Linked DNA regions of Homo sapiens: regions 2 and 3 are each linked to region 1. Evidence: promoter capture Hi-C in 16 types of primary human blood cells and fetal thymus (Javierre and others, 2016). All regions are on one chromosome and are shown on one strand. Each heading gives the region's core, a stretch centred on a gene start or on the middle of the fragment in contact. The rest is flanking DNA. Distances are from core to core; before and after follow the strand shown. Region 1 has its middle 47 kb from the start of PEX5. Region 2 holds the start of CD163 (CD163 molecule). Region 3 holds the start of GDF3 (growth differentiation factor 3).

Region 1 (2,769 bases), core at 90-2,589:
TGAGGCATTTTCTAACACAACAGTCCTCTACTCTTCAAAATGTCCATGTCATGAAAAACAAACAATGGTGGTGGGACAGTTTTAGATAAAAATAACTAAGGAGATATGAGAACCAAATAAATAAATGAACCTTGATTGAATTCTGGATTTACCAAAGCTGTAAAACACATTCGAGTACAACTGAGAAAATCTAAATATTGGCTGGATATTAGATAGAATTAAAGAATTATTTTTAATTTTCATAGATGTAATAATGCTGATGATTAAGAAGAAAATCTTTGTTCTTCAGAGAATGCTGCTGAAATATTTAAGAACAAAGTATCATAATGTCTGCACTTACTCCCAAATGTCTCATTAAAAATATACAAATAGGCCGGGTGCAGTGGCTCATGCCTGTAATCCCAGCACTTTGGGAGGCCAAGGTGGGCCAATCACTTGAGGTCAGGAGTTTGAGACCAGGCTGGCCAACATGGTGAAACCCCGTCTCTACTAATAATACAAAAATTAGCCAGGCATGGTGGTGGGTGCCTGTAATTCCAGCTACTCGGGAGGCTGAGGCAGGAGAATCACTTGAACCCAGGAGGCGGAGGATGCAGTGAGTAGAGATCGCACCACTGCACTCCAGTCTGGGTGACAGAGTGAGACTCTGTCTCAAAAAAGGAAAGAAAAAAGCAAATATAAAGTAAATGAGGCAAAATTTTAATAATAAGTGAATATAGGTGAGAGATGTACAAGTAGGTGTTCATTGTGCTACTATTTTGACACTTGTAGACTCAAAAATTTGCAAAATTAAAAGTTGGGACAAAAGTACTTGACAAATCATAAAGTACTCAAAAACAATGGCACTATGATTAGTAGCAACAATGAAAGTATTTAGAGAAAAAGAAACTTTTCTTACCATGTGTGGACAGTACAGAGAAACAGGTTGGTTTAGTTTTATATGAATTGTAATATTTCCTTCTTCCCCTAGAGACAGGATATTTGAGTTTTCACCCACAATCTGAAATTAGGTAACCATTAAAGGGATTTTCCTTACAAACCATTTGTGCTCTTCCTACCAGATCTAAACACAGGATCTAAACTTAAGCCTTACTACCCCCATTCAATATTCCAGGAAAGTGCTTGGTCAGTGTACCTAGAAACTGGGCAACCTAAGAGGGGTGTGGTTGGGTGGTGAGTGTGAGGGTGCCAGAGCTGGAAACATTTGGGTTTGCATGTCCACTCTGACACCTTCTGACTTTGAGAAGCTTGGATGCTTCTCTGAACCTCAGTTTCCTCATCTAGAAAAGCAGAGATTTAAAAATGCACCTACTGTATAGCTTTATTGTGAGGATGAAATAAGGTGATACAGGTAAGGGCTCCAGTGCCTGGTTAGTACAAAGTTTTAAGAAACCAGCATCTCGGGAAGGCCTTTCCAACCAGGAAGCTTAATTAGTCATCAAATGTTTAAGAAAATAAATATAAAAAACATGAAATTTTAAAAACAGATTTGGCAGTTTTATAACAGTATAGGAGGTGGTGTTATTTTTTCCTTTCAAGGATTGGAAGGCAGGTTGGGAGCAAATAAAAAAAAAATTTGAAAATAATGAGTTATTTCAGCTGAGTGGCTTCTTTATTGACTAAAATAGAGGATATGACCGTGAAGTAATGTGACATGAGTTAAAAAGTGGACTGAGATGCTACCTCAATTTTGAGGCCACAACCTTCCAGGTTATCACCTTGGAAAGCAATCTTCATACTCATCTTGAATTTATTATCCTTGCTGAATACTTTGAAACTTTTATATAGGAAGCACCAGCTCTAAGGATCAGAAGGTGCTCAGAGATAGTAGATCTTCATACTTTGATGGCAAACTTTAGACTTTAGGGAAAAAAGTGGCATTTAGTACTAAGTCTAGTAAATTAGATAAATTATCTGGAGAATACAATTTTAAATGAGATTTTTAAAAACTGATTCTATTTTCAATGAAATTGTTCTATGAATTTTATTTTTTGATTGTTTATTGATATTATATAGACATACAGTTGATATAATTTTTATATATTGATCTTATATCCTGCAACTTTGATGAACTCAATTATTAGCTCTAATAGTGTGTGTATGTGTTTGTATGTATGTATTCCTCAGGATTTTCTATATACATTGTGATGTTATCTGTTGAATAGAGATAGTTTTACTTTTTCTTTTCCAATTTGGATGCTATTTCTTTTTCTTGCCTAAATGCCCTGGATAGAACACCTCTATGTTGAATAGAAGTGGCAAGAGTGAATATTCTTGTAAGTCCTGATCTCAATGGGAGCACTTTCAGTCTTTAACTGTTGAGTATGATGTGAGCTGTGGGGTTTCTGTATATGTCCTTTAACAGGTTGAGAAAGTTCCCTTTCATTGCTAGTTTGTTGAGGGTTGTTACCATAAATAGGTGTTAAATTTTGTCAATGATTTTTCTGCATCTACTCAGATGATCAGGTGATTTATGTCCTTTGTTTTACTAATATGGTATATTAATTGGTTTTCATAGTTTGAACCAATTTTGTATTTCTGGTATAATCCCACGTGGTTGTGAAATATATTCCATTTATATGTTCCTTGTTAGGTGGGCTAGTATGTTTTTGAATTTTTTTGCACCTATAGTCATAAGGAATATTAATTTGTGGTTTTCTTTTCTTGTGATGTCTTTGGTTTTGGTGTCAAGATAATCGTGGCTCATACTATGACCCCATTTTGAGGCCCAGCCTCCAAAATCCTGGTCTTACATATTTTTTGGAGAAT
Region 2 (3,237 bases), core at 657-3,156, 270 kb before region 1:
ACGAGATACCATCTCACACCAGTTAGAATGGTGATCATTAAAAAGTCAGGAAACAATAGGTGCTGGAGAGGATGTGGAGAAATAGGCATGCTTTTACACTGTTGGTGGGACTGTAAACTAATTCAACCATTGTGGAAGTCAGTGTGGCAATTCCTCAGGGATCTAGAACTAGAAATACCATTTGACCCAGCCATCCCATTTCTGGGTATATACCCAAAGGATTATAAATCATGCTGCTATAAAGACACATGCACACGTACGTTTATAGCGGCACTACTCGCAATAGCAAAGACTTGGAACCAACCCAAATGTCCATCAATGATAGACTGGATTAAGAAAATGTGGCACATATATACCATGGAATACTATGCAGCCATAAAAAATGATGAGTTCATGTCCTTTGTAGGGACATGGATGAAACTGGAAACCATCATTCTCAGCAAACCATCGCAAGGACAAAAAACCAAACACCACATGTTCTCACTCATAGGTGGGAATTGAACAATGAGAACACATGGACACAGGAAGGGGAACATCCCACTCCAGGGACGGTTGTGGGGTCAGGGGAGGGGGGAGGGATAACATTAGGAGATATACCTAATGCTAAATGACGAGTTAATGGGTGCAGCACACCAGCATTGCACATGTATACATACGTAACAAACCTGCATGTTGTGCACATGTATCCTAAAACTTAAAGTATAATAATAATTTAAAAAAAGGAAAAAAATATATATATAATTGACAACCCTCATAAGTACAGGCTATCATGAGTGCATATTTTCTGGGGTCTTTCAGCGTTAGAGTTATTTCTCCTAGTGAAGGGAGGTTTAACTGAGAAATAAAGTATACGTGAGTGAGAGTTATCTTAGAGAAAGGTACGGGTAGGGAGGCAGTAAACACAGAAGGAACAATATGTATGACATACCATGAGGCAGGGAGAGATTTGGCATGCCTGAGAAGTGGAAGAAAACTGGGGTGCCTTTGTTGACTGGGTTCTAGTGAATGTCTCTCTGGAAGGCTGGAGTTGCTCTTTAATTCCCCATTTCAGGCCCATCACTAACACCTGACAATATGTATGCCATGATGAACTATTAGTAGTTCTTTTGAGCTTATATGTTTTTATATACAAATATTCATTTGTATGTGCTATTTTTTATGCCTTAAACTCCTTTATCATTTGTCCCTTTGGCAATGTTTTTCTCATCTTTTAGGACACAATTTAAGCCTGTCCTCAGAGAAAATAGTTTTCTGACTGTTCATTCCTTTCTCTCAATAGATAGGACTACTTTGTCCATTATTTTTAACACTGCACTTTAGCTTTATGTTCATTGTTGTTATCATATGTGTTTCTCTTACTTGAATCTGAGTTATATAGAGCTAAAATCATGTGTTGCTAATTTTTGTTTCACCATTTGTAATATCAGTAATAGTCATGGCTAATTCTCTTGGTGTACTTCATCCCATTAGAAAAGAAATGACAAATGCTGTGTCTCAACAACTTACACAAAATTACTCATTAGACACATTTGATTATGGAAATAAAATTAAAAGTGCATATGATAAAATGTTATTTAATTATGTTTTGCCTGTTTTGCTTTAGTTTTTTACATAATTTTTCTACATGACAATTAGTAATTTTTTGTGTCTTATATATTTGTCCAAAATGAAGTTCAAAAATGTAAAATATTTAATTCAGCAACAGCAGCATATGAGTTAGTATTTCCTCTAATTTTTCGAAATCTGTGGGAAGTGTTTCCCAATTTCCTTTGGTTGTTTCATGTGCTATATTGAAGAAAACATGAGTATGAAATGGAACCTCAGCTCTTTCAATGACTTCCCTTTTTGAGTTGACTCCGCCTCCATATGTAGCCTTTTCATTTTCATGAAAGTGAAGTGATTTTTAGAATTCTTAGTTGTTTTCTTTAGAAGAACATTTCTAGGGAATAATACAAGAAGATTTAGGAATCATTGAAGTTATAAATCTTTGGAATGAGCAAACTCAGAATGGTGCTACTTGAAGACTCTGGATCTGCTGGTAAAAGCTTCTCATTTATTCTACATTTCCCCTTTAATGGGGTATGTAATTATTATGACAGTCAATGGATGTGATTTAAAAGTGATTGGCATCAGGAGAGTAAGGAGTGGAAAAAGGACATAGGCTTATATGGCAGCACCTTTGATCTGCCATAGATTCAAAATTGAAGATGTGATATGGGAATCAGAGTCGGCATTAATTTTGTAAAACTGCTGAGGTGAAATTAAGTCAGGAACTAAAGTTAACTGAAATGTACTGAGTATGAAAAAATAGTTGTTAGAAAAGATAGAATATGCAGAAAGGAATATTGATAGAGAGTTAATTACATAAAGAAAGTTATCTACTCTGATAAGTGAGTTATCTATTTTAAGACTTATTTGGACATGTTAAAATCATTTAGCATTTTTAGTTTTAAATTAGTGTTGGGTTAGAGTAACGAGAAGATATGAGAGTAATAACAGCATTAAAGAGTGTATTATGTGATAAGGATACAGGTAGAGATGACAAGATTTAATATTTGAGTTTTTCAGATATGGATATCATCACTTAGGTATTGTTCTGCTAGCTACTATTTGGCAAGCATCAAGCCAGGTACTGGTGAAATTATGGTGAACATGATAGATATAATTCGTTTACTCATGGAACTTATCCTCTATCAGTGCGGCTAGGTAGTCTTAAAGATGGGGGCATCCATAATTGAATATCAAGGTGGTTAGGGAATAGAGAAATCTCAGGATACCTTCCCTGTGCCTGCTGGGAGAATTGTCCACTACTAAGTTTCATTGATGTTGTTTCCATTTTCCAGGTTTTAAGGGTTGACCTTGCAATTCTCGTTTCCACCACCAACCTTCTGCTAATCCGTCACCTCTAGGTTGCCTATAAACATGAACATTTTCAAAACCATTTCACTGAAACTATATGAGCCTGGGTATGAATGTTTTCTGCCTGCCTTGCAATTTAGAATGAAGAGTTTTCTGTCTTGGTTTGAGCTTCTTTGTTAATTAACCTCTGAAACCATCTATCTTCTCCAAAGTCTCTTTTTGGGAAGATGCTACTTTTGCCCTCTTTTCTTTTTCACAGACTTCAGAAGACATTTTGTCAACTTGAGTCCCTTCACCATTACTGTGGTCTTACTTCTCAGTGCCTGTTTTGTCACCAGTTCTCTTGGTGAGTACTTTGTCAAATTTACTTACAGCCTT
Region 3 (2,950 bases), core at 384-2,883, 460 kb before region 1:
TATTTTTTGCACAGATACTTATCAAATGTCTGCTACCTGCCGGACACTTTCTTCACCAGTGGAGATACTTTGGGGAAAAAGACACACTGAAGATACTTAGGCAAAGAGACACAGTTCTGATCCTCAAGGTGTGAGTTGTCTGAAAAGGAAGGAGGCAAACACAGTAAAATGCACTGCAGAAACTGTAATGGAGGGCCGGGTGCAGTGGCTCACACCTATAATCCCAACACTTTGGGAGGCCGAGGTGGGTGGATTACCTGAGGTCAGGAGTTTGAGACCAGCCTGACCGACATGGAGAAACCCCGTCTCTACTAAAAATACAAAAGTAGCCGGGCATGGTAGCGCATGCCTGTAATCCCAGCTACTAGGGAGGCTGAGGCAGGAGAATTGCTTGAACCTGGGAGGCAGAGGTTGTGGTGAGCTGAGATCGTGCCATTGCACTGCAGCCAGGGCAACAAGAGCGAAACTCCGTCTCAAAAAAAACAAAAAAACAAAAAAACTGTAATGGATGCCCAAGTATGGCTCAGTGGGAGAAAGAAGTATCTCAATCTATTTTGGTGAGTCGAAACTGTGGAAGTAGAGGTGACCTTTGAACTTGGTCTGTGTAAAGGCTCTGAGATGAAATGAGCTCACAGAGCTACAAATAGGTCAATGTAATTAGAGCATCCACACTAAGGATGGTGGGTGGTGAGAAACAAGGCTGGCGGCTGGGTGTAGTGGCTCATGCCTACAATCCCAGCACTTTGGGAGGCCGAGGTGGGAAGACTGCTTGAGACCAGGAGTTCAAGACCAGTCTGGACAACATGGCAAGGCCCCATCTCTGTAAAAAATAAAACAATTAGCTGGAAGTGGTGCCCTATGCCTGTAGTCTCAACTACTCCAGAGGCTGAGGTGGGATGATCTCTTGAGCTCAGGGGGTCGAGGCTTGCAGTGAGCCAAGATCAGGCCACTGCACTCCAGCCTGGGCAACAGAGCGAGACCCTGTCTCAAAAATAAATAAATACATAAATAAAAATAAAAATAAAAATAAAATAATGAAATCTACTTGAGTATTTGTCTAATCCAGGGGTGTCCAATCTTTTGGCTTCCCTGGGTCACATTGGAAGAAGAAGAATTGTTTTGGGCCACACGTAAAATATACTAACACTAATGATAGCTGATGAGCTTAAAAAAATCACAAGAAAGTTTCATAATGTTTTACGGAAGTTTATGAATCTGTGTGGGGCTGCATTCAAAGCCATCGTGAGCCTCATGTGACCCTCCGGCCGCAGGTTGGACAAGCTTGGTCTATGTAGATGATTAATTACAAGTCTATGAATTATTCACTGCTCTATTCCTAGCACCTATCTCAGCACCGTGCACATAATAGATGCTTAGTAACTGTTTGTTAAATGAATAAATGCATGTCTCCTTTTCACTCTGTCTACTGCTGACAACCTCACATTGTTGTAGAATTTATGTCCATGCATTGGTAATCTTTGTTCTGTGAACTTTTTCCTGGAAGAGTAGAGCAAGAGAAGAGAAAAAAAAATTCCCTCTTCACATCCAATGGCCTTTGAGGAGCTGGGAAGAGAGCAATTCACACTTGATTATCTTACATCAGATAAATTAGCAGCCTCTGAATTGTTGGGCAGTCTGGCAGTGGAGCTCTCCCCGGTCTGACAGCCACTCCAGAGGCCATGCTTCGTTTCTTGCCAGATTTGGCTTTCAGCTTCCTGTTAATTCTGGCTTTGGGCCAGGCAGTCCAATTTCAAGAATATGTCTTTCTCCAATTTCTGGGCTTAGATAAGGCGCCTTCACCCCAGAAGTTCCAACCTGTGCCTTATATCTTGAAGAAAATTTTCCAGGATCGCGAGGCAGCAGCGACCACTGGGGTCTCCCGAGACTTATGCTACGTAAAGGAGCTGGGCGTCCGCGGGAATGTACTTCGCTTTCTCCCAGACCAAGGTAAGGAAATAGAGTGTTATCCAGAAAAACATCTGGAACTGGGTGGTGTGAAGAAAGGAAAGGACAATAGGAAATGACAATTACTGATGGCCTTGTGCTGGTATTTTTCATATTTTGTCTCATTTAATTCCAGCCACGATCCTGAGAGGAAGTTAGATATTCTTATCAAGTTCCTAACAGTAAGGAAATTAGGCTCAGACAGTAGGTAACCTGTAATCTATTCAAGATCATACAGCTAGTGTGTGAGAACAAAGTCAGGATTTGAAATAGGTTTTTGTTTTCTGAATCAACTGCTTTGTGCTTCAGTTGAGATGAAAGAGGTGAGGGAGGAATCAGAGCTCAGTCTCCCACCCTGCAGCCCATATATACACATCCTGCCGTCTTCCATGTGGCAAGCAGGGTATGAAAATTTTGAGGTTGGTTTGCCCAGGAGTCCTGCTTCCCTTATTTGTACCTCCTGGCTACTCTTGTTGGGTGGCAAAGGTTATTCTAGATTTGTGAATAGAGAGCAATAATATATACAACTGTCATATCCTTTTAAAAGGATCTCAGTGAGTGGGATCCAGTACTTTCCCAAACTGACCACCCACCAAATAACTTAGGTCTTCCATTAACAGTAGATCCTCCAACCCCATTCCTGCCCCTAGTTCTCCCCACCCAATTCTTATTCAAAGTCTGAAATGGGTGTTGAGAATCTGCATGTCTATACAACCTCCCGGGTGTTTCAGATGCAGAATTTAGAGCCTTGGTTAGTTTTACAGCAACTGGAGAGAAGATTTGAATATTTATTTGTCCAAGAAGCACTTATTGGATACCTATGGTGAGCCAGGAACTGTGTATGGCCTTGAGAATACAAGATAAAGTTTGCCTTTTTTTTTTTTTTTTTTTTTTGAGAGTCTCGCTCTGTCCCCCAGGCTGGAGTAGAGTGGCACTTTCTCAGCTCACTGCAACCTCCGCTTCCTGGGTTCAAGTGATTCTTCTGCCTCAGCTTCCCAAGTAGCTG

Evidence for each region. The method cuts DNA at HindIII sites, captures the fragments that hold promoters and counts their contacts. A CHiCAGO score of 5 or more calls a contact.
Region 2: the fragment with the promoter of CD163 here is called in contact with a fragment that was not itself captured in region 1 in 4 of 17 cell types (endothelial precursors, activated CD4 T cells, fetal thymus and 1 more); the score reaches 6.5 in endothelial precursors.
Region 3: the fragment with the promoter of GDF3 here is called in contact with a fragment that was not itself captured in region 1 in 9 of 17 cell types (M0 macrophages, naive CD4 T cells, naive CD8 T cells and 6 more); the score reaches 8.6 in M0 macrophages.

What each region holds. Positions count from the first base shown.
Region 1 is chr12:7,235,666-7,238,434 of GRCh38, reverse strand. It overlaps the pseudogene LOC100420983. Among named protein-coding and RNA genes, the nearest start is that of PEX5, 47 kb to the right of the region's middle. The HindIII fragment of the contact is 179 bases long and covers 1,250-1,428 here.
Region 2 is chr12:7,502,446-7,505,682 of GRCh38, reverse strand. It overlaps CD163 (CD163 molecule), which reads left to right and starts at 1,906. Exons shown (of 17, transcript NM_203416.4): 1 at 1,906-2,038; 2 at 3,119-3,205. The coding sequence starts at 1,993. The HindIII fragment of the contact is 3,696 bases long and covers 1-2,047 here.
Region 3 is chr12:7,694,458-7,697,407 of GRCh38, reverse strand. GDF3 (growth differentiation factor 3) reads left to right here and starts at 1,633. Exons shown (of 2, transcript NM_020634.3): 1 at 1,633-1,947. The coding sequence starts at 1,680. The HindIII fragment of the contact is 5,455 bases long and covers 1,284-2,950 here.